Linked DNA regions of Homo sapiens: all the other regions are linked to region 3. The links are contacts of gene promoters, found by promoter capture Hi-C in blood cells and fetal thymus (Javierre and others, 2016). All regions are on one chromosome and are shown on one strand. The core of a region is centred on a gene start or on the middle of the fragment in contact, and the rest is flanking DNA. Distances in the headings are between cores, read along the strand shown.

What was found. The method cuts DNA at HindIII sites, captures the fragments that hold promoters and counts their contacts. A CHiCAGO score of 5 or more calls a contact.
Region 1: a contact is called between a fragment that was not itself captured here and the fragment with the promoter of GIN1 in region 3, in 1 of 17 cell types (non-activated CD4 T cells). The highest score is 6.1, in non-activated CD4 T cells.
Region 2: a fragment that was not itself captured here is called in contact with the fragment with the promoter of GIN1 in region 3 in 1 of 17 cell types (naive CD8 T cells); the score reaches 5.0 in naive CD8 T cells.
Region 4: a contact is called between a fragment that was not itself captured here and the fragment with the promoter of GIN1 in region 3, in 2 of 17 cell types (naive CD8 T cells and total CD4 T cells). The highest score is 8.1, in naive CD8 T cells.
Region 5: the fragment with the promoter of MAN2A1 here is called in contact with the fragment with the promoter of GIN1 in region 3 in 2 of 17 cell types (total B cells and total CD8 T cells); the score reaches 11.0 in total B cells.
Region 6: a contact is called between a fragment that was not itself captured here and the fragment with the promoter of GIN1 in region 3, in 1 of 17 cell types (activated CD4 T cells). The highest score is 6.8, in activated CD4 T cells.
Region 7: a contact is called between the fragment with the promoter of RFESD here and the fragment with the promoter of GIN1 in region 3, in 1 of 17 cell types (total B cells). The highest score is 7.0, in total B cells.

The regions. Positions count from the first base shown.
Region 1 is chr5:95,812,387-95,815,924 of GRCh38, forward strand. GLRX (glutaredoxin) reads right to left here. Exons shown (of 3, transcript NM_001118890.2): 3 at 1,463-2,003. Among named protein-coding and RNA genes, the nearest start is that of GLRX, 8.6 kb to the right of the region's middle. The HindIII fragment of the contact is 5,335 bases long and covers 1-3,538 here.
Region 2 is chr5:95,544,907-95,548,508 of GRCh38, forward strand. It overlaps SKIC3 (SKI3 subunit of superkiller complex), which reads right to left. Exons shown (of 43, transcript NM_014639.4): 4 at 2,155-2,245. The coding sequence starts at 2,244. Among named protein-coding and RNA genes, the nearest start is that of SKIC3, 8.3 kb to the right of the region's middle. The HindIII fragment of the contact is 219 bases long and covers 1,574-1,792 here.
Region 3 is chr5:103,118,552-103,122,472 of GRCh38, forward strand. GIN1 (gypsy retrotransposon integrase 1) reads right to left here and starts at 1,587. Exons shown (of 8, transcript NM_017676.2): 1 at 1,513-1,587. It overlaps PPIP5K2 (diphosphoinositol pentakisphosphate kinase 2), which reads left to right and starts at 1,750. Exons shown (of 31, transcript NM_001276277.3): 1 at 1,750-1,937. RefSeq lists enhancers at 723-1,224, 1,225-1,725, 1,561-1,820, 1,851-2,040, 2,091-2,150. The HindIII fragment of the contact is 9,897 bases long and covers 1,545-3,921 here.
Region 4 is chr5:94,613,996-94,617,967 of GRCh38, forward strand. The region is part of intron 1 of KIAA0825; the gene reads right to left. Among named protein-coding and RNA genes, the nearest start is that of KIAA0825, 2.6 kb to the right of the region's middle. RefSeq lists an enhancer at 3,623-3,972. The HindIII fragment of the contact is 2,445 bases long and covers 1,501-3,945 here.
Region 5 is chr5:109,687,697-109,691,176 of GRCh38, forward strand. It overlaps MAN2A1 (mannosidase alpha class 2A member 1), which reads left to right and starts at 2,231. Exons shown (of 22, transcript NM_002372.4): 1 at 2,231-2,856. The coding sequence starts at 2,722. It overlaps MAN2A1-DT (MAN2A1 divergent transcript), which reads right to left and starts at 3,403. Exons shown (of 1, transcript NR_186543.1): 1 at 105-3,403. RefSeq lists enhancers at 887-1,555, 1,315-1,414 and silencers at 1,525-1,814, 1,825-2,344, 2,375-2,584, 2,995-3,094. The HindIII fragment of the contact is 3,132 bases long and covers 1,088-3,480 here.
Region 6 is chr5:96,535,846-96,539,291 of GRCh38, forward strand. The region is part of intron 4 of LOC101929710 (a long non-coding RNA gene); the gene reads left to right. It also overlaps a transcript of CAST not described here. Among named protein-coding and RNA genes, the nearest start is that of PCSK1, 100 kb to the left of the region's middle. The HindIII fragment of the contact is 295 bases long and covers 1,248-1,542 here.
Region 7 is chr5:95,644,344-95,648,165 of GRCh38, forward strand. It overlaps RFESD (Rieske Fe-S domain containing), which reads left to right and starts at 2,434. Exons shown (of 6, transcript NM_001131066.2): 1 at 2,434-2,474. The HindIII fragment of the contact is 4,150 bases long and covers 1-2,743 here.

The sequences.
Region 1 (3,538 bases), core at 1-2,500, 7.3 Mb before region 3:
GCCCTCTGCCGTTACCATATTTCTGGGGGACACCCCGTTCTTGGCTCACACAATAGCCTCCCTGATCGTGGGGTGCCGTGTTTCCAAGGACTCACTCAGCACCACTTCTGCTTCCCCAGAAGAGGCTCTGGAAAACTTCCAAGGGATGCCGAAGCCAGTCTATAACTCAGAGTCAATGTTCAGTTTACCTGTTCTTGGGATTGTTCGTCTAATTGTGATATCACCTTTTTCTTACACAGCTAGGTCGGTGTTATTGTTTTTCAAAAGTAAAATGTATTGCTTAGAGATATTATAAGGAGTAAAACTATAAAGTATCAGAATGATTACAAGAAAAATGAAGTAGTGGTTACCTCTATGGAGGGATGGAGAGAGGGAATACCCTTGGGGAGGGGCACACGGCCCTGTAAGGTACTTTACCAGGACCTGGGTTTGAGGCGGATAGAGCAGGAAAGACTTTTAGTACTATTTGGCTTTTTAAACCGTATGCATATATTGCTTTGATAAAACAGCTCTTCTATGCTGGGAACTGGGTTTCCATAGTTAAGTCTAGGTTCTTGCCTTTGGGTACTTTTTTTTGGAGACAGAGTCTCGCTCTGCTACCCAGGCTGGAGTGCAGTGGCACGATCTCAGCTCACTGCAACCTCCACCTCCCAGGTTCTAGTAATTCTTCTGCCTCAGCTTCCCGAGTAGCTGGGACTACAGGCACGTGCCACCACACCCGGCTAATTTTTCTACTTTTGGTAGAAATGGGGTTTCACCATATTGGCCAGGCTGGTCTCGAACTCCTGACCTCATGATCCACCCGCCTGAGCCTCCCAAAGTGCTGGGATTACAGGTGTGACCTGCCGCGCCCAGTCACCTTTGGGTACTTCTGAATTTGGCAGGAGACCAATACAGATGATTAACTACAACATAGCCTGATAAGAGCTGTAGAGTATCTACATGCACAGTGTTTTTGAATTCCAGAAGAGGGAACGATGATTTTTCAGTCAAAAGGCCATGAGAGGAGAGAGAAAATATAGGGGAAATGATCTGTAAATCAGGCCTTGAACGAGGAGGAGTTTCAAAGTAAAACAAAGAAGAAAAGGCATCTCAGGAGAAAGAAACACAATGAACATGGACAAAGAAGTGTGAAAGTGCAGGCAAGTGGTCCAGAGTGGATCAGATACTATAACCTCCGGTGGGAGGGCTTTCATATTGTGCAGTGTGTAAACTGAACAATTATCCATAGCAATCCTGGTGTAAACTGAACAATTATCATAGCAATCCTGGTTGAAGGGAGTGGTTAGGGCCCACAAAAGAAAGAAGCGAGAAGTACAAGGGCCTTAAGTGGGAAATGGCAAAAAGGAATATGAAATGAAAAAGACTGTTATTAAACCCTAAGCATTATTCAGTAAGCCAGGGCTGGCATTTATTTCAATATGAAATTTCAAAATTATATCAGCCATTTGTACTCAGTGAGTGACAGCAGCACGTGTCTTTATTTATAATGGCAGGGCCAAATATAAACACAGTTTTAAGTTAGTGTATTTCGCATAACATTCCTTAATGTCTTGAGAACATGCAAATGAATTGGACAAAAATCACTGAATCATCTATAGGTTTTTTTTATTAGAAAAGAAATTAAGTGTTGTCACTAGAGATTGAAGGAAATTAACAATCTTACAATTCTAGAACAGGCAAACTTCATGATAAGGGATTCTTAAGTTTTCAAAGTGTAGGAGCTCTTTCACAGATACACTCTTGGTGTAGGGGGCTGTAAGTTTTATCAGATGTTTTACATTTCATGCTTTAATCTTTGCTGGTAGTCTAAATAAAATAAATACACAGTGTTCAGGATTATCTGGATAGCCATCTTAAATAACAGAGTGTTCCGCATGACCACAGCCTCTGCACTTGTGCCTCTGATCCATATGACACCAAGACCAACTATGCTTTTCATATGATTTCTCCAATTGGGTCCTGTGACCTTTCACAGAATTGTTGAACATTTCCTATGAGATCTGTGGAGGACAAGGTGGAGAACACTGGTTCAGAGCAGTGATTTTCAAGGTGGGATGGGATGGGGTGGAGTTGAGTGGAGAGATGCATGTAGTTAGAAAGAACACATTCAAAATACCCACTGATTTCATAATACAAACTCCATAAAGTCAAGCAGCAAAATGATTTTAGCTAATGGGCAGTAGCAGATAACCAACTGTGGATTCATCATTGTGGAGAAGGAGTCTGGATAAACATAGTTGAAAAACACTGGCTTAGAGGTAGAGACATGCCGACACATGGAGAACAGTAAGAAACGCATGCCAAAGAGGACAATTGAGGGTCAGTGAGCGAATCCTGGGCCAGAACTTGTCACAGTCTTCTGAAAACCAAAGAGCACATCCAGAAGAAAACCAAGATGGCCCGTCAACCTTCTTGGCCCTGTGATTAAGAGCAAGTTGGTCCACTTTTAAATACTGAGCCAAAAGAGGAAAAAAGCTGTTTGTGCCCCCAAATTCATCCACCAGAAGTGCTGTCATCATTTGCAATGCCATCCAGCTCTTGAGGAGGGACGTCAGCATGGGGCCTGTTCTGCCAGGAAAGAAAGAAGGGATCTCCTTGTAAGGCAAAATCCTTCCTTTCTCTCATTACCAGAACACTTACACCTGCCATTTAAACACACTCTGTTGCAGATGGCCTTGAGATGCAGCTGCCAGTAAAATACTGACAGCATAGAACACTGAAGGAAAAGGCCAAATGCAAATAAGGAGACTTTCTGAATATGGGGGACTCTAATGCCCACACCAAAATAGAAGCAGTTGGAGAAATAACATTTCCCATCTTCTCTCATTCTTAATCTAAGCCTAAATTGCTAAACATGTCCCAGAATAGGAAACCATTAATTGGGTTTGAGTGCTTTTAGTACCAGTGGTAAGGCCAGGAAGTGAACTCAGACAGACATAGGGTGCACCTGCTGTGATGATATCGTAGAATTCTGATTAGAAGATTTATAGCATTGACTATTTCATTTCAGAGAAATCAGTGGTATTTTTTCAGACCTTTTTCCCCCTTCTGTTGCTATGCTGAGTAACCATCACAAATAATGTATACTCATTGCCCAAGAAATGAGTTATTAATTAGCAGGCAATAGATACCCCTCCAAGAACATTTTGGTTAAAGAACCATTCATTTCTCCCTCAACTAAAGCAGCATTTACATCTCTCTGGGTACAGGTCTCTGAATTGGCCTGCTTGGGAGCTAGCTAGCGCTAGCTGTGCTGGGGAACTGGGGGAGGGAGGAGCTCAGACTCCAAAACCATCACGGTTCCCTTCTGAAATGTTCATCGCCCTGTGGTTTTCCACAGAGCCAAAGATCTCCTTTAGGTTACTGATTTTAGAAAACTTTGTTTTGGCTTTTGGGAAGCCAATTAAATAGAGTTGATTTGCCAAGTGAACACAGGTAAAGCCAAAATGACCTGTGTTTCACATTGCGTTTTGAATAAATCCAAATTGTTTACCATGGCCTGGGTGCTCTGGCCCCTGCCCACCTTTCTCGCTAT
Region 2 (3,602 bases), core at 433-2,932, 7.6 Mb before region 3:
AGCGCCACAGGCAGACAAGGTGATGATCAGACAAAACCACAGCAAATGCAACATTCCTTTACTCAAAAATTCATTTAGTCTCAACCAATATTCTGGGTTACTACACATTAGTAATCAGGCATTTATAACTGATTAGCTATCCATTTGCATTTTCTAATTGGGTCTCTCTAGTATAAATTATTAACTATTTGGTGGAATTAATATCTGAATTTTGCAGAAAGTCTACAGGAAGAAGACAGCTATGGTGGTGCTGTATATAACTGAAACGTGCATCAATTAGATAAACCTAGTGCTGAAGGAAACAGTCCTTCTTCCCTTCTTGTATTCCATCCACAACCTGTCCCCACTTGGAACACACTGCCCACCTTCTTCTATATCAAGATTAATACTATCACGTCCTTGCATCCCTGCTGGGCTCCATCAGTCACCACCAGAAACCTAAACCTCACAAGGGTATCCTTTACCTGTTTACTCCTTAGACTCATCCTCATATTGCCATGTATACTGCCCAGTCTTGCCCAATTCCCTCCCTACCACTCTCCTAAATTCTTCATTGTGCCCTCTGGAACTCCCAATCTGGGTCAGCCAAGTTCCTTCCATATTTTTAACCTTTCTTTTAACCACACCAAGTTCTGCCTCAATGAAAACATGGCTAATTCCCCTATACATCCTACAGATTGCAGATGACTTCTTTTACAGCTCACATGCCACAGGCCTAGAAGGTGAGAAACTGCTTCTTGCTCACACTGTCTGTCACCTACAGTCCTCTACTGCTCCTTCCTCCTTCAGCAACCCCACTACCTTTGAAGCTCAGGCCATCCAACTATACTACTAAAAATAGCCTTCTTGTTGCTACAGTCTACCACCTTCCTAATTCCCCTTTCCTTCAGTGAAAATTCTGTATCCTTCTTTTCCACCTCAGTGCCTGTATTCATGTTGATATCCCGTTGAACACTCTGGCCTCTCAGTTATGTGACCACCACACTACTCACCCATCCAAAATCTGAATTTCCAGCACAGTACTATTCTGCTCCTCTCTAACCGTCCCAGTTCAATTACTGTAGTGGTCCCATGGTAACAAATCTTTAACCTTTGGTTTCTCTAATTTTTTCTATCCTAAACGCTTTTTCCATTGCCTATCAGCCCACCTCTCATTTCTCATTCCTCTTTACCCAGCTTAGACTCCAGGGCTCACCACTGTCATCACTCCCTTGTCATGTCTTTCCTTTGCATGTCTTTCCTTTCTTCTTTCTCTCCATCCATACTTGAACCCCATCATGCCCATCTCCAAACCTGAGAAACTGAATACAAAGAGAAAAACTACAGCGGAGTTCACTAATTTCACTTTAATAGCTTGAAACTTCAAATGGGCAATCACTAGGGCCTGCTAATCTTTCCAATCCTTACTAGCAAGTTTCTTTTCCCACCATGAGAAAAAAAAAAAACAAAAAAAAAAACAAAGAAAGAAACTATTTCATACCTTCTGCTATCTCAAACCTCCTAACCAATAACCAAGTCTTCTCCCAGTCTCATCTTATACTTTGCCAAGAAAATAGAAGCCATTAGAGAAGAAAGCTTTTCCCAACACCAAATCTATAAGCCCAACACTGTATGGATGGGCACCTATCTTCTCTCCTGCTAAGATGGAAGAAGGATTAAAGGGCTCCCTCAAGCTCTGGATCCCAGTGTGTCTCTCACCTACTGATGACTTCACTCCTACCACTACCCTCTGTCTCTCCCCCGAGTCCAATTTCTCCCTCTGAATGGAATCATACCCATCAGCATAAAAATAAGCTTTATAATCTTGGTCCTCTCATCCACAAACCAAATAGAAATAGAACACTAACATGCCATTAAACAATGAAAACTTTAAGATACAGTAGCATTCCACGATACAACCATCAAAAGATATTTATGGGATATTCAGGTTTTAAGAACTTGGTTTTGTTAAGTTACCAATACAGAGAAAGTTAAGTTTGGCAGAGGTAGTTTATCCTGCTAACTAGAGGTTAAAAGTCCAACCATTCTAATGGTTCTACTAAATGGCCTTACCACTTTTGCTGTTTGGACAGGAAATAATTCACATATTACAAATCAACAATGTTTATAAATGGGTAACATACTTTCATTGTGGAAGAAAAAAATACTGGTTACCTTACAGTGTTTCAAAGCTTCTTTGTATTCTTTGTTTCTGATTGCATCTCTAGCACTTTTTAGAGCAGTCTTCACTTCCTTGCTGGACATTCTGTCAAGGCAGAAAGCCTGAGTAAATCTACAGTAATACCTACCCAATCGTAAATGTTCCAACAAACTTAGCCATCTGAAAAGGGACCCTGGAAAAGGAAAAGACTCCTTCTCTCTGGAACAGTCTTCCCTCTAGAATATACACAGTTTATTCCTTAACCTCTTCAGATCTGTACTCAAATGTCACTTCCTCAATGAAACCTTCCTTTGACATGCTATTTAACATTTTAATCTTGCCATCCCCCTACTCTCAACAACCCATTATTTCCGGAACCCCTTCCATTGCTTTATTTTTCTTGAAAGCATTTGTCACATTTAATATACTATATATTCTACTTATTTATCCTGTTTATTTTCTGGGTCCCAACCCCACAAGAAGCTAAGTTCCATGCAGGCAAGAATTTTTTTTTTCACTGCCGCATCCCCAGGACCTAGTATCTTAAATTATAGATGATCAATTAATAAGTGTTGAAATTGAGTTATATTTTATTTACATTCATTCTCTATATATTTTGGCTAAAATACAAATGATCTTGTTGATCAGGACTCAAAACACATACCAATCTCAATCCAACTCTCCCACTCTATACAAAGCTAGATCCAGTAGAATAAGCCCAAGTCACAGATAAAACACTAACACAAATAATTTCAGTGACTGTGATATGAAAGTTTAAGAAAGCATTGTTTTAATGCTAGTTTCTGTGAAACATAAATCAAGATATTAACTTTCTTCACAATAAGGATTACTGTAGGTTTATTACCTGTACTTTTTCTAAAGAAAAACAATGTTTAAACTTGAATGGAAGCAATGGATAATGCAAAAGGGTTGTATACTAATTTCAGCCATAAAAAGATATTTTAATTAGTAGAGAAAGTATTTCTTCATTTAGTCTTAAGATATATTAATTTTAAATAAATTAGCATATTTTAAGATTACACAACTTATTCTGGCTTACCTATAAACAAGTCTAATTCAATCATAATTCAATGTTGAAAAAAAGAAATATTTGTATTTTCTGTCAGCTCCTCTAATCTCATAGAAAGGTAAAACAAAGCTGGGGTAAATATTAAGTATTTATAGGCTTCAGATGCTCAAGGGAGTAAAATGTACCAAAAAGATGAATCACTGACATGGTACACTGACAGTCCTTTATATCCAAAGAAGAAGCTAACACAGAAGTATGAGACCAAAGAAGTTTGAGAAGTTAGATACATATTTTTTAATCTTTTTGACTTAAAAAATGTTAGGATTCAAAATAATAGAAAAATTAAGATACCATAAAATCAATTTATCTACAGCTAGAACCAGATTCCCTAAATAGGCAGATAAGTAACTTTTTTGCCTAGTTACAATAATT
Region 3 (3,921 bases), core at 337-2,836:
ATCCTTTTATAACGATATAACAGTCTAATGCAGTTCACAAACTGCTGGTTCTGGAGGTAGAGAGACAGATGACAAGGAGAAATAGAAAATGCGTAAGAAAGAAAACTCAGTTCACGAAAAGCATAGCCTTTGAAGTAGTTAAAAGTTTTACTGCTAATAATTGGTATTCATATACAAAAGTAACGTAAATGAAAGTTGTTTTTTTTTTTTCAAAGCCCATACATATGAGAAAATGGCTTGAAACTGTAATATTCGAGACAAATATAAATATCTTCTTATACTCTGATTGCTAAGTAAAGGTATCATTTACAAGGGGGATTAAGTGGTTTCTACTACATAAAGAAAGACTGTCCTGGGACTTCTTTGGATATGCTCATATTTTCAAGAATTTCTCTTAAAATCATTACTTAATGTACTTAAACATGTAGGAATAAGAAAAAATGAAAGTGATTGATTACAACTTGTAGTTTTGCAAGAGGAATGTCAGGGTCACATTTGGTTAAGCTTTATACACTTTGTCCCCTCCATAAAAGCAAATAAAATCAACTCATTGCTTAATTCCTTTAATAATTTTGTGTTCAATAAAGTAAGGCAGTTAGGTATTATGTCAAGATTAGGACTTAACTGTTTCACCAAGGGTTAAAAACAAAGCCACCAATTTAAGCCCCTAAAAGGTTATAATACCCGCTGGTTCCATCTTAAAATCTGCAATTTTCAATCAACATGTTAACTTGGATCGGAATTCTGACATTTGAATTATTCTATTTTAAGCTCCAAAAAATGGACACGCACAATTTTATGCAACGTCAAGGACCTGTAAATTTAAATACACTTCTCTGTAATCTGGTTCACTTCAGAGTACAAATTCATTGAACAAAAAAATGCCTTCATCGCCATATGCATTCACATGAAGCCACATGGGATAAATGCATTTCCACTTTAAAAAGTATCTACTTTGGTTCAGAAATGCCCATTTAAGAAAAACCTACACTGAGATAAAGTGGACATTTTTCTTTTAAAACTACGTGACAGGATTCCCTCTTGACCTCACGTTTCTCCCCGCCACGTATTTAAATTTGGGGCAAAATTTCTGATTAAATGACTGATCAAAGTAATGGGGAGAATTCTTCAACGCCGGCCAAAAGTGCTTAGTCTCAAACGCTGTGAGGGAGCATTTCCTAAGCTTTGGGCGACTCGTTAACGGAATCTTAAGGGCAAGGTCCAACCACACTCAGAATCAGCAGGAAAATGACCGTTTGGTAAAACTCAATTACACCCAGTAGGCACCTCCCCAGGCCCGAAACAGCACTCGCCCTTTCTGCTCAGCTAGCGCGGGACATCGCAACGCCCAAGGCCCTCCTATCTCAAAGGCGCTTGCGCAAAATCTCCCCACAGACTCAATTAAACCCTTCCTTAGGCCGGTCGAGGCGAATGGTTTTGAAATTACTGTCGGGTTACGCCTCACTTTAAAAAACAGTAGGTATGACACAGCACACCAGAACGACCACTCACCGAGGTGGTCCTAAATTCAAACGACAGATTTAAGCTTCCTCTCGTGATTTATCTCGCGCTGCCGGAAGCGGAACTACCCGGGTCCTTTAGAGGGCAGTCCTTTGGGGAACCTTGGAACCACGGTCAGAAAGGTTAGGACTGATCATTTGGCTCTTGCCGGAAATCGTTCCGCCCGGTGAGGTTTCGGCGTGAGACCCGAGGAGGGCGGGGAAGAGGCGTGACGGAGATTCCTGAGGTGTAGTAGCCTGAGGTTCCCTTATGTGGCCCTATAGCTGTTACTGAAGGAAGTAGCCTACGTCCACGCCTACAACTGAAGTCTCTTGACAAACACCTCACCCCTGCCTCCGGGATGAAAGGGGGTAACCTAGACCTGAATGGGCTTGACCATCTCACAACTGCTCGCGTGACGACCGCATTCGTGGCAGGTGAGGGCCCAAAACCGGAGGAGAACCGGAGATGCGGAACCTGATCATGCCAGGGTTGAGGCGGCTGCTGGGCTTCTGCTTTGTCTCCTGTGCTCTGCAGACCCTAAACACATGCTCCACCGAGGGGCTTGTGCTGGAGAGAATGACAGCCTGGGCGTGGAGTGACAGTACAGCTTTGAGGGTCCTTTCGCGCCTTGATTTCTCCTCCTGCTCCCCCATGGCTTCCCTTTTTCATTTCTTGGGTTCGAGACGCCAGAAATTGAAGATCAGCTAAAAGGGAACCGCTGAGCTTCTACCCCACGCTGTGCCTGGCTCCACTGAAGTGATTAGCCTCGAGTTATGGGACTGCTGTGGGTAGAGGTGGCTTTTTAAAAAATTTTCTGCCTTAGTCTTTATCCCTCTCTCTGTCAACCCCACACCCACTTTAAAATAACAAAAGCCTCATGTGTTGCAGCTTTTCATAGTAGGGACCGAGGCTGCAGGGCACTGCCGCACCTAGTCATTTGGAGGTCGTTGCAGCCTTCTGCGCCTTGAAGAAGAAGGGGCCAGGGTGATGATCCCTGGATCTCATTCACGAGGTTCTTGACCACTTCCTGGGAGATTGCGACTCTTGGTGTCCTTTGGCTAGTAGTTGTCTTGCTGGAAGGCTTAACTGTGGAAGTGGGAAGCATAGCTGACCTTAGCACGTAAAATCCTCGCTCTACACTGGGACAGGATTTTGTTTTGCTATTGAGAATTCTTAAATGAAATAGATAATTTTTTTGTCTCAGATAGATAAAATAATAACGATAGTTGCCATTAACTGAGTCTTATGTGTGCCGAGTGCTTTACATAGTTTGTCATTTATTCCTCTCAACAATTCCAGGAGGTATGTTAGATTATTATCACCATTTTACAGAGTTAGAAATGGAGGCTTTGAACAGTCAAGCAACTTGCTCTATTAAACATTTGTTATAAGTAAACGTTTGAATCTGTGTTAAAAACCAGATCTGTCTGCCTTCAAAATCTGTATTCTATTGTCCTGTCCTGTTCTTCCTCGATTTCAATTTCTTCACTAACATTTTCAGTGTCTGAAAGTATCCATTCATTTAAAAAATTTTGGTGTACCTACTTATATGTCTGACAAAAGTTAGACATGATCTCTGTCTTTATGGAGCATTGTGATGCAGAATTAAGTAGTGCAGAACCCAGAATACTGTACTTACTGCAGCACAGGTTTATTTAAAGCAAATGACTAAACTGATTTGCAGAAAATTTTAAAATCAAAGGTTGCTGTTTTAAATGTTAAATTCATATGACTTTCAGAGTAGTTGTTGTGAGGGTATTAAACTGAACAATTGGTAGAACATCTGTTGATTACCCAAATAAGTGCTATGAACCAAGTTAAGTAGTGGGAATATATAGATTAGGTCCTCATTCTTTAAAAGCTCCCATGCAACCACAATATAGACAATGTTATGGACTATTAATTTTCTCACGTGGAAAAGGAATTGTGGTTATGTAGGAAGGTGTTCTTATTTTTAGCAGATACATACTAACGTACTTAGAGTTGAAGTGTGTTGATATCTAGTACTTTCAAATGGTACAGCAAGTGTATGTGTGTGTATGTGTCTGTGTGTATAAATAGCAAATATGGCAAAATGTTGGCAATTGTGAGTATAATGGTGGGCATATAGATGATTAACAAACTGTTCTTTCAACTTTTCCGAATATTTGAAATTTTTCATAATAAAAAGTTGGGGAGGAAAAAACCCAACCCTGATGGAAACAGATAAGTGAAAAGATAGATCCAAAATGCTGCGGAACATAGAAGATGGGAGAGGGTTTTTATGTGTATTTGGGGCCTAACAGAAGTGTGATAGTTCTCAGGAAAACCTTCACTGAAGACCTTTCAGTTGGTTTTTGAATGGCGGATAGGAACTTTCAAGGAGAGCAGTGAATTCCAGGCAGAAGGAAATGCAGGTTCAGCAAAAAGATATTAAAT
Region 4 (3,972 bases), core at 1,473-3,972, 8.5 Mb before region 3:
AATAGATACGAATATGTCTAAATATTTTACTATAAAAACCTTTATTGTACTATTACTTAACAGAAAGAAGTCAGTTTAAAAGTTATAACATATTCATAAAATTGAATAGCATACAGGCCCTAAGTATTATTTTATAGAAGCAAATTTATTGACATGGAAAAATTCATGGTATAGCACATTGAAAAAAGCAGGTCACAAGACAATATAGACAGTATTATTTCATTTTTATTTTAAAAGCACATATATGCAAATCTGTAATACAGAGAAAAATCATAAGTTATTTCTGAGTGGTGGGGTCATGGGCCACTCTTCCTTTCTCTTTCCTTTTTGGCATATTTGTACACTCTAATGTTTCTGTAACAAATGGGCGTTTTTCCATAACAAAGAAAACAAATGCCAACTCCATCCTCCACCCCATCCTAGTTATACACACAGATTATTGCTTATCGTTAAAAGCCTAACATCTCTAACTTGCCCACAGTTATCTACAGCTTGTCCTAAACTCAGCTTTTTACCTCAGCTTTATTACCAGCCTTCATCCATCTTACATAGCCAAAGTGACCTAGGTACTATTTCTGTTTTCTGACACCTTTGCATCTTCCAGTAGAACACTTGTCCCTCTTGTTCCCCTGCCAAAATCCTTTCCATCCTATATGGCACAAACTCAATATTACCTTTTTTATGAGGTCTTTCCTCATCTGCCCTCCTGGAAAAAAAAAAATCTCTTTTCTTTGCATTCCCATGTTTTGTGTTCAATGATGTATGTAAATTGCCCTACATATAATTATTTGTTTATATAACTTTCTCTCTCCTAGTAGACTGTAAGTGAAAATATTCTTCACCTTTGTCTAATTTATAAAGCATTTTTCATATCCACTAATCTTTTATCCTTGCAAGACTGAGCAAGAAAAAGAATCAATATTTATTTATCAGCAATTGTGTATCAGACAACACGTTTGAGGCTTTATAAGTCAACCCACTTAACGCTCACAGCAATCCTATGGATCCATTTTACATATGAAAACATAAGCTCACAAAGGTTCAGTGACTTATTAGTGTCATAGCTGGTAAAAAAAAAAAAAAAAGCATGGCTGTGATTTTTTTAACTCTATTCTTCCTATTGCAAAAACATGATTGTGTGTCCACCAATGTGGAAGACGTGAACACATATAAAAGCTTACATAAAACACATCAAAATTGATGAGGGTTTTCTGGCACTCCAGAACTGCTATATTCAGATAATACTTAGGAGTCAACTAAAGTCAGAGGATTTTTGAGGTAGGAGGGACCTTACAGATAATATAATCCATCAAACTCCTATATGTTATAGATGAGAAACATGATACCCAGAGCTTTTGCACACATTTAGCAGCTGAACCAGGATTAAAAATTCAACTGGAGGCTAGCAAAGTGGTTAAGATTATCGCTTTTGGGATCAGAGCCCTTCATTCAAATCATAGCTGTGTTTAATGACTATGCGTAACCTACGACAATTTACAAAGCTTATCTTTGCCTCAGTTTTAGCATCTGTAAAAGGAGGATAATAATACTTACCCACTGTGCTGTAAGGAGTAATTTAACACTGAATAGCAGAGAATAAACACAGAAAAATATTAGATATTCTCTCATCTCCTGTCTCACAGTCCAGTCTTCTTTGCAGGACAGCACATTGCCTTTTATGAATGAGTGTGGAGTGGACACTGTATTTCAGGGGCAAGGTGAGTAAAAATAAATATTTATTTATGTGGTAAATCCTTTAAAAAATGTACAAATACTTCTCGGTGGATAAATAACATTTTAAAAAGGAATCATTCATTCAATAAATGCTTATTTTTTATTTTTTAGAGACAGGGTCTTACTCTGTTGTGCAGGCTAGAGTGCAGTAGTATGATCATAGTTCACTGTGACCTATGTTTATTTATTAAAGGAAGTATAGAACATAGTAAAAAGAGCCAAAATTTAGAGGATCTGGATTCAAATCCTCTTGCCTTAGCCTCCCAAAGTATTGGGGTTACAGTCATGAGTCATGGTTCCTGACTTATTTATTGAGCTTCTATTACACGCCAGGCACAGTGCTAGATGCTGGGTTTGAGATGACGAACAAAACAGACATAATCCCAAACTTCATAAGCACTGAAATTTGATAGCAAAATATCCCTGAGATCTGCCTACGGGATCTGCCTACAAGTCAATGCAATGTAATCAAATACACATTAGTATTTCAGGCTAGCTATACCTATACAGTTGTAAAACAGGATATTCTTTAGAATTAACTTCTATGTCATTTCTAGTATTGGTCATTTCAACTAAATTTTTGTAAATTCTCTGAAAATTAGGCTATTTCTGTTTCTCTATATAGAATTGGGTATTGGGATGGGCAGGTTTAATAAAGCATATTCCTGAAACTATGTGATAATCCCCATCTGTTTGAGGGTTACGTGAGTGGAACAGCACAGTTTTGCTAATAATTCCTTATAAATCATTACAAAGTTGAATTTTATGAATTTGTGCTCATTTACTCATTCTTTCTCCCTACACACACACACACACATGCACACACAAATATACATGTATACAAATGTGTGTGTGAAAAGCTGTCTAAAGAGATAGTTAGCTGATACTCTGGACTCAGTCACCAATATGCTTGCTGATGGTCTCCAGATCTTCTGCATTTGCCCCAAGTGTTATGCTAATGTACAGTATAGGCATTTGTTTGAATTAGGATAATAAAACTGGCCAAGGATAAAGGCACTAAAGAAACTGCATTATTTAGATGTCAAAATTACCTTATGGTGATGAACACATCCCTTAAGTCCCTTTTATCCTCAAGTTTTGCTATCCACTTGATTTCTAAATGTGACATACTATCTATCCATTTTTACCTGGAGTGAAAATAATGATACTGTTATGTTTACTTATAAAGGTATAGAGCACAGTAAAAAGAGCCAAAATTTAGAGTCAGGTAGACTGGATTCAAATTTTAATTGTGCCATTTAATTGTATAATTTATGGAAAATCACAACCTCTTTGGGTCTCAGTATAAAATGTTTTGCAAAATAGAAATAATACAATTTTTGTGATTTTCTTTTTTTATTAAACATTAAATAAAATAATAAATGTAAAGTGCCTGGCAGACAGTATCTACTTGGGGTAAGTATTAATGATTGGCTACATTCAAGAGCAATTCAAAGAGAGAAATCACTGCCTCTAAAAACTAGTTGCTGTACAGATATAATACATAATATCCCTGAAGTAATTTATAATACTTTCAACTGGAGAAATAAAGAAAAAATACAAGATTCAACAAAATGTCAAGATTGGGATTAATGGGGCGATTATAAGTTTGTTGAATTATTAACCAACAAGGCCAGAAAATCAATGTGCTGTCCTAAATATGGTTTGTTGCATTACTCTCAAAAGGTTAAGAAGACACTGGCCTGGTGTTAACAGGGGCCTTGAATTGAACATATTGCATTTTTCTTTATCGGTATGCTCCGATAAAGAAAATGTTTTTATGGGTATGAGGAGCATACCCATAAAAAAAATGCAATAGTACCTACAACTCTTTCGGGAACTGACTGTTTTGAAAAAATAACAGTCAGCTGCCTTTTACGGGGGTTGGTGGGGAGGTAATTATCTAAATATAAGGTGGCAAGTGAAAACTAGTTACCTAAGAAATTGCATTACTTAAGAGAAGTCGCCAAGGTTCACTACATCACATCTTTCAAATCTTAAATGAGCACCTTTCCTCACATTATCCCTTTGTCGGAAGCAATTTCTCTTTACAACTATTCTGGCTACCTCAGACCTCCATCCAAAATTCTCCTGAATCCTTCATTATCGACAAAGCCTGGAGCAGAACGCAAGCATTCCTTTCTGAAAGCACACATACTTACTGATCACTGCTTTCCAAAAATGCATCTAATGCCCAAGCATGAAATTACAAGCTTGTTCTCTTATGTCTCAGCCATG
Region 5 (3,480 bases), core at 981-3,480, 6.6 Mb after region 3:
AGAAAGAGTTGGCGTGTTTAAGATTGTCGGTTTCATCTGGGTCCAACCCATTTCAAGTATTGAGATTCTATTATTAAAAAATAACACCATTTTACACGAAAAACTCAGAATATGTGTGAATTTAATAGCAGTTATAATTCAGTAACATGAAAATTAAAATTTTGTTTGATTCTCAGCATAATTCTTGTTGCTACAATAAACCAGAGCTTTTGGAATTCTGCAGAATATCTCTGGTTCTCATACCATAACTCTGAGAGTTAAAAAACCTGTGCTTGTCATTTCTCTTTATAACCACTCAAAAGCACGCAAAAGAATCCATCCCACACCAGTCTTTCTAGTCATCTTTATAACCATAGCAGTCAAGTGTAGCAGCCACTTGGGGCCCCAAGGCACAGGCTTCAGTTGGCACTTCATCAGGATCAACCACAGGTAATTGCTTAATTGAGATGCCCAGCATGTCATGAATTACATTTCCCTTTGGCAAGGAGCTAAAGCTCAAAACCTCAATCAAACTGACCTTTAATCCCATCTTTGCAGGTCTATTTCTTGGGACTACTCCCGGGACAGGGAAGGCTTAATAAAAAGAATTGTTAACTATAATAGAGGATTAGAGTAATGAAGGATTCACTAGCAAGAAGAGAACTTTAAAGAATATAGCAACAGCAGCTATAAGGAGCTAACCTTATAACTAACTCTTGGGTTGAGAGACAGAGTGCCCAATGAAGAACCTCCCCAATTCCTCCCAGGGCTAAGATCTAGACGTTTTTGGAGAGGGCATGACCTGGCTCACTGAATGGCAGAGAAGTCACCATTGGGCTACGTCTGCAAAGCTTGTGGAAGATGTGCCCTCTGCAACTTGCTGCAAATGCCTCTAGGGTGCCAGGGAAGTTATTCATGGGGTAGTGTCTCACCTCCTCTACAAAGCTCCTAGAGTTGGGCATGTGAGAGGAAATTGCTAGTTACTGAGCACTATAGGACCTTGGCAGTGGAGAAAGCCAGGTATGCTGCAAAAGCTTATCAATACACAGAAATCAGGAAGCAAAATCCTTTTTTTCTGTAATGTCTCTTCAGCGCCCTCTGCTGATAAAGCTTCAGTCCCAGAAGGCAAACGAAAAACTGTTTAAAAGGCTCAGATCCGTTTTTACAGTGCAGTCAAAAAGGGCGAATTTGGAGCTGAGAGGCAATAAATCAATAACTGGCAGAAGCATCACTTCTCAGATTACACTCATGGATTTCGTAGTCAGATGTTTCTACATGTGCCTGGACGGCCCTTTGTCAGTCTCCTTTCCCCCAGGTTTTAACAGGCTGTCACCAAAGGAGGAAATAGTGAGCCCGAAGAGAATGTGCAAGCCCTCTTCTCTTGCATTTCCTCCAGCCCGTCACCAAGTACTCTTCCAGGCACGCCAGGCCCGAGTGTCCTAGGATAGGAAACCTGAGCAACAAAGGGAAGTGGGGTGTAAGCTCAACCCCTGTTGGACGTGGGGGTGCTGGCGCCTGAACGCCCCCGAAGGCCTCAACTCCCAGAAAGCTGCCTGCCAGGTCACAAGAGCCCTGTGAGGTCTTCCTATCGCCGGGACACTGGGAGGCAGGCGCGGGGCGGGTCCGCCGGGCGACGCGCTGTGATTGGGCGCCGTGGGGCCCGCCCCCTCATCTCGGAGCGTCGGGAGGGGGCGGGGCCAGCCGCCCGCTCGGCTCAGGCGCTGCGGGCGCCTATTGACCCAGCGGCTGCTGCGCCGCCGCTGTCTCCTCCTGCTCGTGGCGGGCGGTGCTGGAGCGCCAAGTGGCGCTGGAGAACCGGCGCTTCCTTTCGCCGCTTCCGCCGCCATCTCCGCGTTTGTGGGGCGGGAAAGAGGGAGGGGGCTAGCGGCTGCAGCTGGAGCGGGCTTCTCTCCGGGGACGGTCCTTTCCTCCCTGCTCTCCTTTTCCTTCTTTCCGCGTTGCCGCCGCCCGCCCCCTGCGCCTCCCCGCGGAGCCTGGGTCCGGGAGGGGGAAGGTAGGGGCGGCGGGGGGCGGGAGAGTCTGGCGAGCGGACGCTAGCTCTGAGGAAACTCATCAATCCGTGAGCCCCGGAGTCCGGGGTGCACATCGGCCCAGCCGCAGCGTCGGCGGCGGCGGCGGCAGCAGCACGAAGGGGCTCAGTCGGGGTAGGCGGGGGCGGTGCCGGTGCCGCGGGGGCGGGCCCGACCGTCCCGCCCAGAAGTTGTAGGGCTTGGCTCCTCGCGATCTTGTTCCTTTCCCCTCCGCTTCTCTGACCTAGCTGCGCGGCCCCGGCCCGGGAGCTGCCGAACCCGCGCCTCCCCTGGGTGAGGAGGACACGCCTGCCCTCGTCGAGAAAACTTTTCCTGCCGACTCAGTTGGGGCGGCGGTGGCAGGAAGTGCGGGCAGCGACCTCTCCTCCGCCTGCCCCGCGCGCCCTGCCGGAGGTCGGCGCTGAGCTTGCGATCAAGTTTGTGGGGGCCCCCCTTCCCAGTTGCCGGCGAGTCTCGCCTCGAGAGGGGCGCCCGACCCCGGGGAGGGCGGCAGGCCAGGGCGAAGGCCAAGGGCGTGTGGTGGCGCCGGAGACTAGGTGCGGAGCAAGGCGGGGACTCGCACCCGCATCCGAGAGCGCGGAGGTCGCGCAGCCCGGGAGAAGGGAGCCTCCGGCGGCTGCTTCCTAGAGTCCACAGTGCGCTGTCTCCTTTGGCTGAGGAGAGTGTCCTGGCCCCGAGTCTATCGAGGAAAATGAAGTTAAGCCGCCAGTTCACCGTGTTCGGCAGTGCGATCTTCTGTGTGGTGATTTTCTCGCTCTACCTGATGCTGGACCGGGGTCACTTAGACTACCCCAGGAACCCGCGCCGCGAGGGCTCCTTCCCTCAGGTAAGCACCTGGGAAGGGGGCGCGGGGCTCCGAGGGGCCAGGCGTGCGGGCCCCTGGTTAGCGGCTGCTACCCAACCTCTTCCTCCCGCCGCGGCCCCACACCCGTGCTGGGCGAGGCCAGGGGCTCTGTAGCTCTCGGACGGCAATGATCACCTCCTGGGAGCCACCTCGCCCGGGCGCGCCAAGTTAACAAAGTGCTGGGCGGCGTGCGGCGGCGGCGGCGGCATCATCCCGCTCAGGAAAGTGGCCATGTTCCGGCATTCGCACCCGGCCTGTTGGGGTGGCTTCGGGCACCTGCTGGCGGGGGAACGGGCGCGGCGTGAGGCACCCCCCGCCAGCCCGGGGCCCGCGTATCCCGGTGGGGTCGTTCTCGGCTCTCACAGGGTTAAGCCGCCCGCACCAGCCCAGAGCCCCTGAGCGCACGGAGTCGCGGAAATGGATCAAACCGAACCCACCTAGGCTTTTTTTTCTTTTTCTTCCCCGCTGCCTCTGAAGAGAGAGAAGTTTATTTCGTGTTGCGGCCCTTTTAGATGTGAATCTCTAGGTTGATTTTAGTGTCGTCATTCTTCAGCTATTACATCTGGTTTGTTTGTGGCAGACAGGGGGAACCGAGTGGGGAAGCGC
Region 6 (3,446 bases), core at 145-2,644, 6.6 Mb before region 3:
TACAGGCGTGAGCCACTGCACCTGGCCAAATAAACACTTTTTAAACCTAAGTATGTCCTCAGTGGTACCTACTTTTATTTGTTAAAACCGACAATTGAAGATACTGTTGTTTTGTTATGAGGAGCCCTTTAGTACATTTAAATCTTTTAACTATATGTTAAATAACCATATGTTAAATATTTAAGGTTTTTTTTTTTTTTTTTTTTTTTTTAAAGAAAAAGGAGGAGGAGGGCTGGGTGCAGTGGCTCAGGCCTGTAATCCCAGCACTTTGGGAGGCCTAGGCGGGTGAATCACCTGAGGTCAGGAGTTCAAGACTAGCCTGCCCAACATGATGAAATCCCATCTCTGCTAAAAATACAAAAAATTAGCCAGGCGTGGTGAGAGACGCCTGTAATCCCAGTTACTAGGGAGGCTGAAGCAGGAGAATCACTTGAACCTGAGAGGTGGAGGTTACGGTGAGCCGAGATCGTGCCACTGTACTCCAGCCTGGGCGACAAGAGCAAAACTCCGTCTCCAAAAGAAAATAAAAGGAGGAGGACAGTGGAACAACAGTATCCAAAGGCAGTGAGATGTTGAATAGATGAAGTTGTAGACATGCCTGGTGTATTTGCGACATGGAGATCAATGATGTCTTTGACAAGAAAATTTTACTGGAGTGATGGTGATGCAAGTTGGTCTGTAGAGGATTAATAGGCGCATAGAAGTAAGGAAGGAGAGGTAATTATAGAAGTGGAAAAGAGTAAGGTACAGGTATGGCAGTTGAAGAAAATCCATGGATTTCCAGAGTGATGATACATTTTTCTTTCTCTATATTCATCACATTTCTCAAGTAAATCTTTTTTGAGCTGTCCTATTAAATCTGTGCATTATGACAGCTTGGAAATTCTAATCATAATTTGGGATAATACCATGAGAAATGCTCCCCTCCCAAATAATTGAGTAGGTAATGGTCTGACATTTTGATGGAGGGATATTTGTAACAGTATAAATTTTTTTTATAGAAAGAAGGAAGCAAGTAAGAATATAACGTGTGATTTAAATCAGATATGGGGCAGGCATGGGAACTTCTGATCTCATTTCCACTGATAAAAGTTATTAAGCCAAGCTATCTTCTCCTATGAGCACCCAGAACTCTAATTCTCTTATAATTTGAATCTACCCAGTGCTCAAATTAAGCACTTAATTATGTATGGTCTTGGAGAAATACAAATACGACTAAAATATGGAGGCTGCTTCTAAAGAAAAGAAGCTTTCAATACAGTGGCTGGAATATTTGAACTTCCCTGACTGCCTGCTGCCTTGTTGGCTTCATGCCAGACTGAAGCCCACCCTTGCTGAGCTCTGTCCCATATCCTCTTCACCCAACTCAGTTACCATCCTTCACTTCGCCCAAAAGCTACTCTTACTCACAACTCTATTTGAACTGGATTCTTTACCAAAAGATATAAAACCAGTCTGCCTGTTTTCAGCAGATTTTATTAAAATGTCTGAACACATTTTACTAAAGTTGAAGCAATAGACTACCCCTCCTGCCCCCATTTAAGCTTTCCAAGTACTCTCTGTTCCCCTTCAGTTGTGCTATGATTTGAAAAACCATCTAATTTGTATTGCTGGAGTCACATACGTGTATGATGAGCCATTGATGGCCTTGAGATGAGAACTTTTTATTAAAACACTTCAGTTACTATACTTCTGTGAGCAACACAGGAAGAGAAAAAAAAAACTTATCTTTTCAACTCCCATGGCAACTGACTCATCATTTCCTCTCCAAAGAGGTTAACCTCATCTCATTTCACTGTTCTCCATGTCACTATAGACTCTGCCATCTTTGAAGCGGCAGAAAAACAAAGGGTGGATAACTTTCTCTTCCTTTGTTTTAGAAGTGCTGCTTCCAGGAGTAATCTGATTGTCACTCGGTCACTTGGGCCATGGTTCTTTTTTCCCAAGACCAGTCTCAGCACATTTTCCCCATCAAAACTGTAGATACCTAATTTTTATATTTGCTAATGTTTTTGAGGGGGGGAGCAAAATTATATTGTATATCATGTAGCAAAAGCATCCTTTATATCCATATTGATCCTGTCAACTCCTCCCCTAAAATATCTCCCTGCAGTAGCTTTCATGCTTTCAGCCCTCTCTTTCACTTGGCCTCATTCTTCTCCACCTCTCTAGTAGGCAGGCTCTATCTGTTTTCTCTCCCACCCCTCTGAAAACCCCAGTCAGAGCATGCAATCTACACACAAGGCAAAGACTGGTTAAACAGCCAGCAAAAGAAAAACTGTTTGTTAGACAAACCAGGTCACCTGGTGTCCTTCAAGCCTTCCCGCGAGTAGCTTCCTTTCAAACCTCCACATAGGTTATCAAGAGCAGTGTCAAGTTCTAGGGATGGGCTCTTTAAAGGGATACAATTACCAGTTAATTTGAAGCATCTAGGAAAGGAGGTGAGTGAATAGTAATTGATAGAGGTATGAAACTACGTAGCAATATGTGGATATGATCCTTATATCATACCTATCTGAAAGTAAAAGAATTTTGCTTTTCTCATATTTATCTGTTAGAAAAGATAAGGTTTGGAAAGCCTTTTGGAAATCAACTTGCTTTGGACATCACTGAAAAGCATGCAGATTAAAAACAACAAACACTAGGCTAGCAAAGTAAATGACCAATTACCTAAAAGCATTTGAAGATGTTATTAAACTTTGGAACATCTCTTGAATTTCTGAATTGATAATATAGTCAGAATTAATGTGCAGATTTGGAGATGTTCAAGTAGTTAAAAATGGTCCTGGACTAACCTCAATCTTGTTTTGCAACATCTGTTTTTTTAAATTAAAAAAAAAACAGAAAATGTAACATTGAAACACTGTCTCTTCACTCATACATAAGACCCCCCCACACACACACCGCTCCCTCAGAAATGAAATGAGCTTTGGGATACTGTCTCTGTATCACATCATAAGACATAGAAATATCAAGTTACTCTAATTTGCAGTTTGGGGTTTAAAAAAAATCTCAGGAAGTGAAGATCAAAAATCAATATCAAATGACTCAGAGAGGTATTCTGCTGCTATCAGGTCACCCAAAGAGGAAGCACTTCATATTTGGTCAATATGGTAGCAGCATATCACTCTGAATTGTATAGGAAATAGACCACAGAACTTTCATTATAAAGATCTTGCTAAATCAATGACTAACATTTGCAGTTAAAACAAATCCAGACTATTCTCTCTTATTTGTATTTTCTCATAAAAGTATGTATGAAGACAATCACAGCAAATGTCAAAATATCACCATTTTTTAAGATTCAGCAGAACTGACTCATAGTGTTCAAAGTTCAGGGATATAGTGAGTTGTTGAGAAAAACCGAAAAACTTAAGAGTCAAAGTCTTGAAACAACACACTTAGAGCCTATTCTAATGGGTAATGCAAACTTTATATCATGCCAA
Region 7 (3,822 bases), core at 1,184-3,683, 7.5 Mb before region 3:
TCTAAGAGGGGAGTCTTGGTGCCTGAAAAGTCTGCCTAGAAACAGCCTGATGCTCACGGCAGAGGGACTAGGCTCACAACTTTCAGTTGAAACCACACATGAAGATATTGAGAGCCAAAATCAGGGGGAAAGCTGGCCACAGGAACCACTAGGTGTCACTAATAGGCCAAAGTTAGAAGCGCGGAAAAGGAAAGGCTAAAAGAACAAATGAAGGAAGGAAAGAAAAGGTAGTACCTGCCCTAAGATGGCCACAGGTGAAACTTAGTGGTAGCATTGCTAACATTGTTCTATTAAAGAAAAAAAAAAGGCAAAATAACAGTAGAAATTATGAACTTTATTCTGAACAATAATGACTTCCAAATAGACTGGATGGGTTCTTGCTGTTACCTAATGTGCATGCCTGTGTGTGAATGGTTTTGTGCATTTGTGTGTGTGTGCACTTGGGAAGTGGAGAAGGGTAGTTTATTCTGACCTCCATTATAGCTTTCCAAACATCACATGACTAACCATATGAATACTTTTGGTAGAGATAAAAGAAAGTTTCTCTTCTTTCATCCTACTTGTGTGTATATGCATGTATAACTACTGAGGTCTTCAGTTTATTCAATATCAAATTTAAGGTCGATGGATCTAAGATGTGTCCTTTTTTAATGCCCAGAATATGACAAAGCAAAAAAGGATTTCTAAAATGGCAAACCTTATTTAATCCTTCGATGACAAGCTGGGGACTACTAACACCTTCCATGTGCCAATAAAATCATTTGGGATGACTAACAGATAATGGAAATTACAATAAATCAAAATATATTTTATATCTTTGATAACTGATACATCAAAACTAGATAGTTAATTTGTGTTTGGGTCAGTGAAAAAAATGGCCAAAAGGGAAATGACCCAATAAAATATTATTGATCACCATAAAACTGTATTGAAGAGAAAAAAAACAGAAGAAACTAGCACTGGAAACAAATTATTCTGAGCTATTCAACTTCTTACATGTTGAGGCTCATTTAAAAAATGGCATTTATATAGCACACTGAGGTAAATGGACAAAGTTCCTGGGTTTCGGCTGCCCCAGTTCATTGGGCCACCCTAGAGCCTGAGATCACTATGTCACCATACTAAATACAAGTTGTAGTGTTCAACCTTGGGTTCACACTGGAATCACTCAGGAAGTTAAAAACATACATTGAATCTGCCCACTCCCTTCCCACCCCAAATAATCTGTGTTTTATTTTGTTGGTCTGGCATACAGACTGGGCATTACGACTTTTCAAAACTCCCAAGCGACTCTAAGGCATAGCCAGGGTTAAGAATCACTGCACTGGAAAGTAGTCAAGGAAATTAAAAACTTAGGCTCATCTAGTTTCCCAGCTCGGAACACAAATATGAGGGTTTTGGTGGTTTTCTTTGTTGTTGTTGTTGTCAATTCAGGGAAGTACAATGAGAAAAAAGCAAAATTGCAAAGTTCATAATATGAAAGTGAAAACTCTCCATCTCCTCCCAAAGCAACCACTATTGTTTCTTTTGATTTTTCGAGAAAAAGTTTATGTACATACCTGCATGTTTGTATTTCAAAAAATAATTGTTTACATTAAAGAGAGGACACCATATATAGTATTCTACGCTTTGCCTTTAATATTCATTACATGATGGGCCTGTCCTTTGAGTATACAGTACACAGCTACGAAGTAATTCACATGTCTGTACTGTTGTGCTGTGTTTTATTGAACCATTCCTCCGTGTTATCACTTCAGCTATTTTCACTACTTCACAGCAATAAACATTTTTTTTTTTTTTGAGATGGAGTTTCGCTCGTGTTGTCCAGGCTGGAGTGCAACGGCGCGATCTCGGCTCACCGCAACCTCTGCCTCCTGGATTCAAAGCGATTCTCCTGCCTCAGCCTCCTGAGTACCTGCGATTACAGGCCTGGGCCACCACGCCCGGCTAATTTTGTATTTTTAGTAGAGATGGGGTTTCTCCATGTTGGTCAGGCTGGTCTCAAACTCCCGACCTCAGGTGATTCGCCCGCCTCGGCCTCCCAAAGTACTGGGATTACAGGCGTGAACCACCGCGCCCGGCCTTAACATCCTTATACATGGGTTACCAGCATCGCGACGACCTTCTGCAAATATTTTTATAGGGTAAATAACTGAATGAAGTCGCTGGGCGCATCTAAAATTTGAATAAATGTAATGAGATCAACAAACAACTAAAAAGTAAACTGATGCTATCCACATTTGTCAAGTACACGAGTATGCCTGCCAGTTTGAAGGTGCTGGCGCGGCGCTGTTGGCCAGAGATCTCTATCAACCAGGGTCATCTGCCGGCAATGCCATAGAGGCGGTCCCGGGGGCGGGCCTTCTTGGGTCACGTGGACGGCCTCGCCCCGCCCCCGTCGAGGCGCCGCGCACGTCTGGAGCTCTGGCTCGTGCAGTAGCGTCACGCGGAGGCGGAGCGAGGACTCGGGGACAGTAAGTTCTGTTCTCGCCGCGCAGGGGGCGGGCTGGCGGGACCAGCTGCTTCCGGCTGGGCTGCGGGCGTGGACTCCTCATTCCGGCTGTGGCCGCGCCGCTGCGGGGCCTGAGGCCCTCTTGGGTTTTGGTTCAGCGTTAGTTAACGGTTAACCCGCCAAGGCGGGCTTCCGCCCAGGCACAGGAGACTCACCGAGCTTGTTCACCTTGAAACTTGGGCCACACCTGAGACCTGCCACCTAAGGGGGGTACGCGGGTCGTTTTTAACAAGCTTTCATGGCATTTGTGCCATGAAAGCTCTAAAGTATAGAAGCTGCTCCAGGGCTTCCGCAGCCCCGGCCGTCCTGGAGATACTCGCCTCCTGGAGTCTGTGTCGAGAATTTGCAGCACCTGGACAGCCACGTGCAGTCTCAGAACTGCAGGCGGTCTTTACCGAAATGTTAAACACAACTTGAAGTTAGGCAGGATAACTGCCAGAGCTGGATGGACCTTAGAGGTGCCAGCTAACGCGCTGTGAGCGTTTTCTGCGGTTAGGCCTGCTCTAAACATTTGACATGTGTTAAAGCATTTATGTGCTTTACCCACACCCCTATGTGGCGGGCCCTTCTTAAAGTAAAAGAAACTGCAGCACAGCGAAGTTAAGCAACTTGCCCCAAATCACGCAGAACTGGGATGCAAACCCAGGTCTAGCTCACTCGTGATCACAATTCAACATCATACGATGGTGCTGATTTCCAGAGCAGCTCTGTGACTTTATATAAAATTATTGGGCAAGCGTTCAATTGTAAACATTCGTGAACATAGCTGTTGCACATTAGCGTTCCTTTTTTTTTTTAATTCAGGACCATCTTTGGTGACAAATATAAATATCAATACTATATATATCACCAATATACATATTTGCTTTGCTAAAAGGTTTCTGTGTCTTCAGGATAGTTTACTTGCAAGCCTCATGTTTTTATAAAAACGTGGGTGCTACCTGAATAAAACTAATGCCTACCCGTTGGCGGTTTTGTGAAGACTAATGAACTATTATATTCAAAGGGTCCAAGCAGTAGGCATTTACTAAAGGACAGCTAGTTTTATCTGTTATTATTCTGCCATTCAGAGAGATACCAAAACTACTCTCTAAGGCATTTCTCTTCCCTGCATGTAAAAGCAAGGGTGTCATACTTGAGATAAGCATTCTGATAATGTGTAGGCAAAGTTTCCACACTTGGTAAAAGCATCTTAGTCATGGTTCAAGACGAGTGACAAGTAAGTACGTTTCACTTCATGTTTCTTTTATCTCCCGTGTCTTGTGGAAATTTGAGTTACACTAAATATTTTTTTAAATTCCACTTGAATT